3 separate regions of the Homo sapiens genome follow, and all the other regions are linked to region 3. Evidence: promoter capture Hi-C in 16 types of primary human blood cells and fetal thymus (Javierre and others, 2016). All regions are on one chromosome and are shown on one strand. The core of a region is centred on a gene start or on the middle of the fragment in contact, and the rest is flanking DNA. Distances in the headings are between cores, read along the strand shown.

The links. The method cuts DNA at HindIII sites, captures the fragments that hold promoters and counts their contacts. A CHiCAGO score of 5 or more calls a contact.
Region 1: a contact is called between a fragment that was not itself captured here and the fragment with the promoter of NMRK1 in region 3, in 1 of 17 cell types (total B cells). The highest score is 8.9, in total B cells.
Region 2: a contact is called between a fragment that was not itself captured here and the fragment with the promoter of NMRK1 in region 3, in 1 of 17 cell types (total B cells). The highest score is 8.9, in total B cells.

Annotation. Positions count from the first base shown.
Region 1 is chr9:69,743,114-69,745,813 of GRCh38, reverse strand. The region is part of intron 2 of PTAR1 (protein prenyltransferase alpha subunit repeat containing 1); the gene reads left to right. Among named protein-coding and RNA genes, the nearest start is that of PTAR1, 16 kb to the left of the region's middle. The HindIII fragment of the contact is 5,082 bases long and covers 1-2,700 here.
Region 2 is chr9:69,768,061-69,770,760 of GRCh38, reverse strand. All of the region lies in intron 1 of LOC105376076 (a long non-coding RNA gene), which reads right to left. Among named protein-coding and RNA genes, the nearest start is that of PTAR1, 9.4 kb to the right of the region's middle. The HindIII fragment of the contact is 1,163 bases long and covers 720-1,882 here.
Region 3 is chr9:75,086,905-75,089,604 of GRCh38, reverse strand. It overlaps NMRK1 (nicotinamide riboside kinase 1), which reads left to right and starts at 1,450. Exons shown (of 9, transcript NM_017881.3): 1 at 1,450-1,597. It overlaps OSTF1 (osteoclast stimulating factor 1), which reads right to left and starts at 1,091. Exons shown (of 10, transcript NM_012383.5): 1 at 879-1,091. The coding sequence starts at 912. RefSeq lists silencers at 701-790, 981-1,580. The HindIII fragment of the contact is 4,153 bases long and covers 1-2,700 here.

The DNA of each region.
Region 1 (2,700 bases), core at 117-2,616, 5.3 Mb after region 3:
TGTACTAACACTTCAAGGATTTAATCATCTAATATACCCATGATAGCTCCATCTTACATACGAGAAGGACATTAAGGCCTAGAGAGATTAAGTGATTTGCCCAAGAATTCCCAGTAAGTGATGGAGCTGGGCTCTGTCTGAACCCAGTAGCTGCTGTTGCTCTCTTAGGGAGAGACCTGCCAGTAGAGGAAGTGTTACTTTGATAAGTCTTCCTGTATCTTCACATAACCATAAAATGAAAAGCGGGGACTTAAGTACTTGCTGTGTTAGTTTTTGCCTTGTGCTGCTGTACAGAAGTCTCTCATGGAGGATGGACTTCTTGTCTTCACTTGTGATGGAGGGAGGAAGGAAATTGTGTTAGAAGTACAAACAAATAGCAGCTACCATTGGTCAGACACATTTTCTTTAATGTAGAAAGGGAGATTCCAAGGGACTATGCTAATTTACCTAGGTAGAATAATCACTTTTTAGAAAATTGTAGATGTCAAAAGAAATTCCAGAGGCTTTCCCATCATTTACAAACCTTTCCATGTAACTACTTGACTACAAAGGGGTTTTTTGTTATTGCTGCGTATTTTACAAGTTTGGAAATTTAGACAGTTTTACTAAAGGAACAACCTCCTCATTATTCCAGACTTCCTTACTTATGTTGAAAATACTCATTTCTTTGTCAGTCAGTGATGGCGTTTAATTGTACTCACTGTGTGTCAAAAAGCTGTGGAGAAATGGAATGAATTTCATTGCTCACAACACCATGAGGTTGATGTTTCACTGAGGTTTCACTGAGTGAGTCCTTGTTTCACTGAGGTTCCAAGAGGTTAGGTTATGTAGGTAGTAAGTGGAGAAGCTGGGATTCAAACCCAGGTAGTATGGCTTTAAGGAAGGCCTATCCTCTTACCACTCCTCTGTGCTGTGGTCAGACATGGAGCTGCTTTTGGCCAGGGACTGTGCTTACTCATCTTCAGCCAGCTCAGTACCTGGCTTATTGTAGATGCTTACAAAATTTGTTGAGTGAATGAATAATTTGAACATGTATTAGAGAGGACCTGCGTGCAAAAAATTTGTGGTCCAGTTAAGAGGACAATATTTATGTAAGTAACAAAAGTAAGATACGCATAAAACAGATGAGGCCAGGTGCAGTGGCTCACACCTGTAATGCCAGCACTTTGGGAGACTGAGGCGGGTGGATCACCTGAGCTCGGGAGTTCAAGACCACCCTGGGCAACATGGTGAAACACCGTCTCTACTAAAATACAAAAAATTATCTGGGCATGGTAGCACGCGCCTGTAGTCCCAGCTACTGGGGAGGCTGAGGCATGAGAATCGCTTGAGCCTAGGAGGCAGAGGTTGCAGTGAGCCAAGATTGTACCACTGCACTCCAACTTGTACTACAAAGTGAGCCTCCGTCTCAGAGAAAAAAAAAAAAAAGCAGAGATGAAAGATTTTTTTCCAACTAGGTAGGTTAGGAAAGCCTTTAAACTTTTTTTTTGTTAAATATTAGGAGACGGGAAGACATGAGCCAGAAAGAATAGCAAGCAGGTAAATCTGAATTATGTTCCGAGAAAAGAAGGTAGGCGGGTAGGACGTGTGTTCATAGGACAGTGGAGTTTGACTCAGGTGGAATGTAACATGTAAAGGAAAGTAATGGAAGGCCAAGCTGATCAGGAGATTGAGACCAGGTTTCAGAAGGTTTCACTTCCTGGTACATTTTACCAGTACCTTGTGTTGTAGTCATGCTCTGGTATCCATAATCTCTTAGAGAGCAGACTATGTGTGAAGTTCCATGCATTTTTATCTTTGCTCATACTTTTTCCAGTATGGTAAGGTGGTGCCGTGACCACTTTATTTATTTACAGTCTTCCATGTATAATTCCACTAAGAATTAATTGCAGCTTCTTTGGTGGGCCCCAAAATGTGGTTTATGTTTCTACTTCATAATTATTTTGCCTTATATAATTATTTGTTTATATAGTCTCTCCAACTTGAAGATAACCTAGAGGCAAAATTAGGTCTTGTTTATCATTACATTCAATCACTCAGTCCTAAGGGCCTACTTTAATCTTTGTCCATAGTCAATACTTGGAATATTTGTGGAATTAAATGAATAGTGACATAGAATATTATATTTATTTTTCTTGATAAACATTAAGTTAGTGCCAAAAACTACTAAAAGTAAAAAAATGAAGAGGTTAATTATTCTTCATAGGCATATTGTGTTGTAATGTATGTAATGACTTGGAGGTCAAAATAAATGTGTACTGATCCTACTGTTTGTTGCTCATTTGAATTGAATATTCCAATATGCTCACTAGTAATGAAATCATGGGCCCCAAATAAATGTTAATCTCCTATTAAGATAGAATAAAATAATTGATTTTATTGTTAGCTAGAATATTTTTAAATGACTATTGGATGTGTTTATGTGTATTTGCTCTTAGATATTAAAAAGTTTATATTTTACTTAAACACTGAAAATGTCCCAATTATTGTAGGCAGACATTTTGTTTGCAGCATAATTGACTTGTTGGAAACAATTTTGATGTTGACTTTGCCACATGCTAATTGGGTGACTACGGGCAAATTGCTTAAATTGCAGAATTTCAGTTTCCCTATCTGAAAAGTGGGATAAGAATATTTTGGATTGTGATTATGAGAATTTAGTGAAATAATATAAAATAAAGTGCTTACTGCCATGCCTCA
Region 2 (2,700 bases), core at 52-2,551, 5.3 Mb after region 3:
CAGACCCACCCTTAATCTGGTGGGCACAACCTAATCAGCTGCCAGCGAATATAAAGCAGGCAGGAAAAAAACTCAAAGGACAAGATGGGCCTAGCCTCCTAGTCTACATCTTTCTCCTGTGCTGGGTGCTTCTTGCCCTTGAACATCGGACTCCAAATTCTTCAGTTTTGGGACTCAGACTGGCTTCCTTTCTCCTCAGCTTCAGACAGCCTATTATGGGAGCTTGCGATCATGTAAGTTAATACTTAATAAACTCCTGTCTCTCTCAGTATATATATATATTAATAGGATATATTATATCCTATAGGATATAATATATCCTATTAGTTCTCTCCCTCTAAGAGAACCCTGACTAATACAATGTATGAACTAATTATACAGGAATTAGCAAAATTTGGTAATTGATGATAAAGAAGTTTGGGGAAGAGGTATGAGGAGAGACCTCTCTGAATAGGCATAGATTCTGGTGTTATTTGTGTTCCATATGAATGCTCAAAAAAGGCCATCCATTGCAGAAAATGTTCAATAATCAGGACAAAGTGTTCTATTCGACGGCTGATACTCAGCCTCTTTCCCTAGCCATGACAATGTTTGCTTTATGGGCTCATGATGATAGTGGCCATAGAGATTATACCTATGCGCAATAATGCAGGTTTTATTCCCCCTCCAACCCCCATGCAAAGCTGATCTTGTTAGAGTCATTGCTAGGTGCCCAAGCTTTCAACAACAGGGACCAAAAGTAACCGACAAGCTACCTGATGGCAGGTTGTTTACAATGGATTCTTCCATCATCAGGACAGCAATTTGACGTTTTCCTGCCCCAGTTTCTTCATCACTATCCATAGATATACTGAATGCCTTGTTTACAGTCATGATACCTGATATGGTTTGGATATGTGTGCCCTTTAAATCTCATGTTGAAATGTCATTTCCTACCTCATTAATATATACATATAACTACTATGTATTCAGAAAAAATAAAAATAAAAACAGTTTTTTTAAAAAAGAAATGTGGTCTCCAGTGTTGGCGGTGGAGCCTGGTGGGAGTTGTTTGGATCATGGGAGACAGATCCCTCATGAATGGTTTGGTGCTATCCCCTTCATTAGGGAACTGTAGCTCTGAGTTCACATGAGATCTGGTTGTTTAGAAGTGTGTGGAACCTCCCCCTTTTCTCTCTTACTCCCACTCTCACCACGTAAGACACCTGCTCCATTTTTGCCTTCTCCATGATCGTAAGCTCCCTGGGGCCTCCCCAGACACCAAGCAGATGCCAGCATCATGCTTCCTGTAAAGCCTGTGGAATCATGAGTGAATTAAACCTCTTTCCTTTATAAATTACCCAGCCTCAGGTATTCCTTTTCAGCAATGCAGGAACAGCCTAATACAGTACCCCAATTAACACATGATAGGTTTTCTTTTCAAGACAGGCAAAGCACCACCTTCTATCCCGTATTCTCTTCTGCAATGTGACCTTCACACTATCCCATGGGACTTCCTCCATCCCCTTGATTCTGGGGAAGTACTGTGACCGCTTTGACCATTTTGATATTGCAAAATTGATGCTGTACCCTTAACCAACCTGAGCTCTCATTTCCTGCCTCTTGGAAGTTAGCTGCTGTGTATAATTTCCTGAGCTCACTATGCACTGAAAAGCCCTGGAGCATGAGATGCCAGTTGAAAAGAGAGAACAAGAAGCACCACGGCACCAGACATGTGAGTAAAGAAACAATCAGACATCTAGGCCAGTCAAGGCTTTTGATGACTTCAGCCCCAGCCATTATCTTTCTGTAACTGCATGACACTAACCAACAACTGCCCAGTTGGTCCCAGTCAATCCACAGAACTGCCAGAAATAATAATATTGTTTTAAGCCACTAAGCTTGAGGTTTATTTGTTACACAACAATACATAACTAGCATACCTAATTTTTGACCAATGAACTCATTTTAAAACAAAAGGAGCACAGGAATAGGGTTCATACCCATGGGATTCACTGACCATAACATACCCCACCATTCTAAAGCAGTTTACTTAATTAGGCAGCAGAATGACCTACTGAAGTCTCAAATACAGTGCTAGATTGGGCAGCACAATGTGGGTTGTGGTGCTGTCTTACAAGATCGATATGCAATCTGAAGCACCATCCAGTGCATTATGTCATATTTTCCATACCTAGAATACATGTATCCAGGGACCAAGGGCCAGTGGCTTCTCTTACCATTACCCCTAATGAACCTCACAATTTTTTTCACTCACCAAAGCAAAATGAGTGAACTGTACTGAATTGTCTGTTGGCAACTTGGGATTGTCACCCAGGCATTATCATTACCCCTTTCTAAATTCTCCTTCATAACATAGCAGAGTTTGCTAGTAAGAACACAAGATTTGGAAAGCAGAAAGAAGAGACCATTATTCTCCAGGGACAGTTGCAAGGAGAAGCATGTACAGAGAGCCAGCATGAGGTCTGACACCCTTCCAGATGAGTTTCTTGAGAAACACTTGAGTAGGTGCCATAAAAAGGCTGGTAGGAGCTTCCTAGAGGTTCTTGAGACTTGAAGTAGCTTCTGGACAAGGTATAGTCCCCTGTTTTATTGCTGAAGACTGAGATATTTGATGACGGTTCCCCTGACTTGTTACCTCACCCTTCCAACAGGTATGTAAGCCTCAAATGACTTATATTAAACCCTTCTTACTTAGAA
Region 3 (2,700 bases), core at 201-2,700:
ATTGAAATACGTCAGTCCTTTCTAATTACCTACCCAAATGAATGAGCGGAACAGTATGTTACAACTTTTAATTAAAATACGTCAGTTTCTTTTACAATTATCTTATTTCTGCATATCACAGAAAATATTCTAAGAACAGAGCAAAAATGAACAAGGACAATCCGCCCAGAAAACTGCTTTGAGGAATTTAGTAATCTCAGCCCTCTCAGGTTTAGCACGCCAACGTCTTTGGGAGAGCAAAGGCAAAGGAGATGATAAAATGACACTTCCAAATAGCAACAGCTGAGATCACTGCCGCATCCTAGATTCTTTCCACCAGGAGCGCGAGTATAGGGTTTTTTTCTAAACGCTCTTCCCAAGATCCCGAGGTCAATTTCAAACGCTGCTCCACGCTTAAGTCCCGAGGGAGGCTCGCTCGCCCACCCCACCCTGCAGGGATTGCACTTCCCGTTCGCTCTGGCCGGTCAGGAACCCTAACTTGACAGTGACAAACACTGAGAAAAGAGGAAGTGGCTAAAGATCATTTCATGACATTTTTTAAAGGGAGATCAATGGCCCTGTCTTTCCGGAAAACTTCCATGGGACGTTGCCATCACACCCTCTGAAAGTTTCAGCGAATGACAACGTAGCAAAAGTGAGGGCTACTCCCCTTTAAATATATATATATATATTAATCCTCGAAATCCTCTTGCTATCAAAATCGATCCCTCCTCCGTAACAGCGAACGCAAAACTAAGAGCGCCCATCCCGGTGGGGCCGATCTCGGAAGCCAGGCTCGGGGCCGGGTGCGCGCCGGGTCCTCCCTGCCAAGCTGCAGAGGAGGCGCCGGCACCGCGGCGGTCGCAGGACCTGGCAAGCGCCTACCTTACCTCCCTCACCTGGTTTGACTGGTTTGGGTGGCGGCTTCGACATCTCGCTTCCTGGAGCTGCAAATCCTAAAGACCCCGCCGAAAAGCCCACCGCTTGCCCGCCACCTGGCACTCCGGGCACCCCAGTTCTTTTTGTCTGGCTTACAACCGTGCGCCTCCTAGGACCGGCGCCCACCCTTGGCTGCGGGAAGAGCGGACGCAGGCAGAGCGGCTCCGCCGAGTGCTCCGCCCCGCCCCGCGGCCGCCGGAGCAGTCCAGAGCGCGCGCCGGGCCGACGAGGAAGTGGACCCCGCCTAGCCGAGCGCTAATTGGCTCCCGGGCTGGCAGCTTCGCCGCAGCAGGAGCGCGGGCGGCGCGCACGGCGGCGGAACCAGCCGGAGCCGAGCGAGGGCGAAGCGGGCGTGCGCCAGTGCAGTGCCGCGGGCCGCGCGCGCTCCCGATAGGGAAGGGCCGGAGCTGCGCAGGGGCGCGCGGAAGAGGCCAAGCTAGCCGGAGCCCCGCCCCGCCCCGCCCCGCCCCAACGGGGGCTGGAACCCGGCGCCGAGAGTAGAGAAAAGGGGCCTCTGGTGACCGCCCCTACCTGGCATCCCTCTAACCCAGGAGGAGCGTGGGGAAAGGGGCTGTGGGCCTCTCGGGGAGCGAGCTGCGGGTAGCGGCGCACTGGGTACAGGCGCGCGCTTGGCTGTCGCCTCTGCCGCTGTGTTTGGGAGGACTCGAACTGGCGCCAGGTGAGTGCGTACCTGCTCGCCCCTGCCGCGCCGCGCCGCCTTGCTGGGGCCTGGAGGTGTTTCCAGAGGGTTTCTGTGCTGGAGCCCGGGACTTGGTTGCGCCCTGAAAGCCTTGCCTGGACTCTTGCCACCCTCACAGAGCTGATAGGTGGCCTGCCGAGGAGGACGTGTACTCATGGTGGCGTGGTGCTCTAGCGCCCCGGAATAATCCTGAAAATGGGAACGCTGCCTCCAAGAGACCGCGCAGCCTGGAGAAGTCGCCAGGGACAGGATCAGGACTTGATCCTCGCGGATCGATATGGTCTCATTCCTCTAGCGTTGGGGTGATGACCTACTGCCCGCCTGCTGCCTGTTACTGTAAGGCCTGCTAAGAATTTTTTTTTTTTTTACTTTTTTTAATGACTGAAAAGAAATAAAAAGAAATATAATACTTTGTGACACGTGAAAATTACATGAAATTACGATTTCAGTGTCCGTAAAATTTTACTGGAACACGGTCACGCTCATTTGCATCTGTGTTTTCTGTGGCCGCTTTCGCATTACCCAGCAGGGTTGAGTAGCAGCTGGCAAAGCCCAAAGCATTTCCTGTCTGGCACTTTACAGAAAAAGTTTTCCTACCCCTGATCTATCGGATTGAATCTTCGGTGGGAGGAAAGAACTGGAGCACACAAGGAAGCCAATGGCATAAGTTCAAAATAACAGTCAATATTGTAAATTAATTGTATATTTGGGGAAAGAAAAAACTGTTTACCTAAGAACCTACATAAATGAAACCAATGGGGGAGGGGCATGAATTGCGTTTTCAAAAACCCCAGCCCTTCACGTCTGTAATCCCAGCACTTTGGGAGGGCAAGGCGGGTGGATCACGAGGTCAAGAGATCAAGACCATCTTGGCCAACCTGGTGAAACCCGATCTCTACTAAAACTGCAAAAAATTAGCCGGGCGTGGTGGCAGACGCCTGTAGTCCCAGCTACTCGGGAGGCTGGGGCAGGAGAATCACTTGAACCCAGAAGGCGGAGGTTGCAGTAAGCCGAGATTGCGCCACTGCACTCCAGCCTGGCAACAGAGCGAGACTCTGTCTTAAAAAAAAAAAAAAAACCCA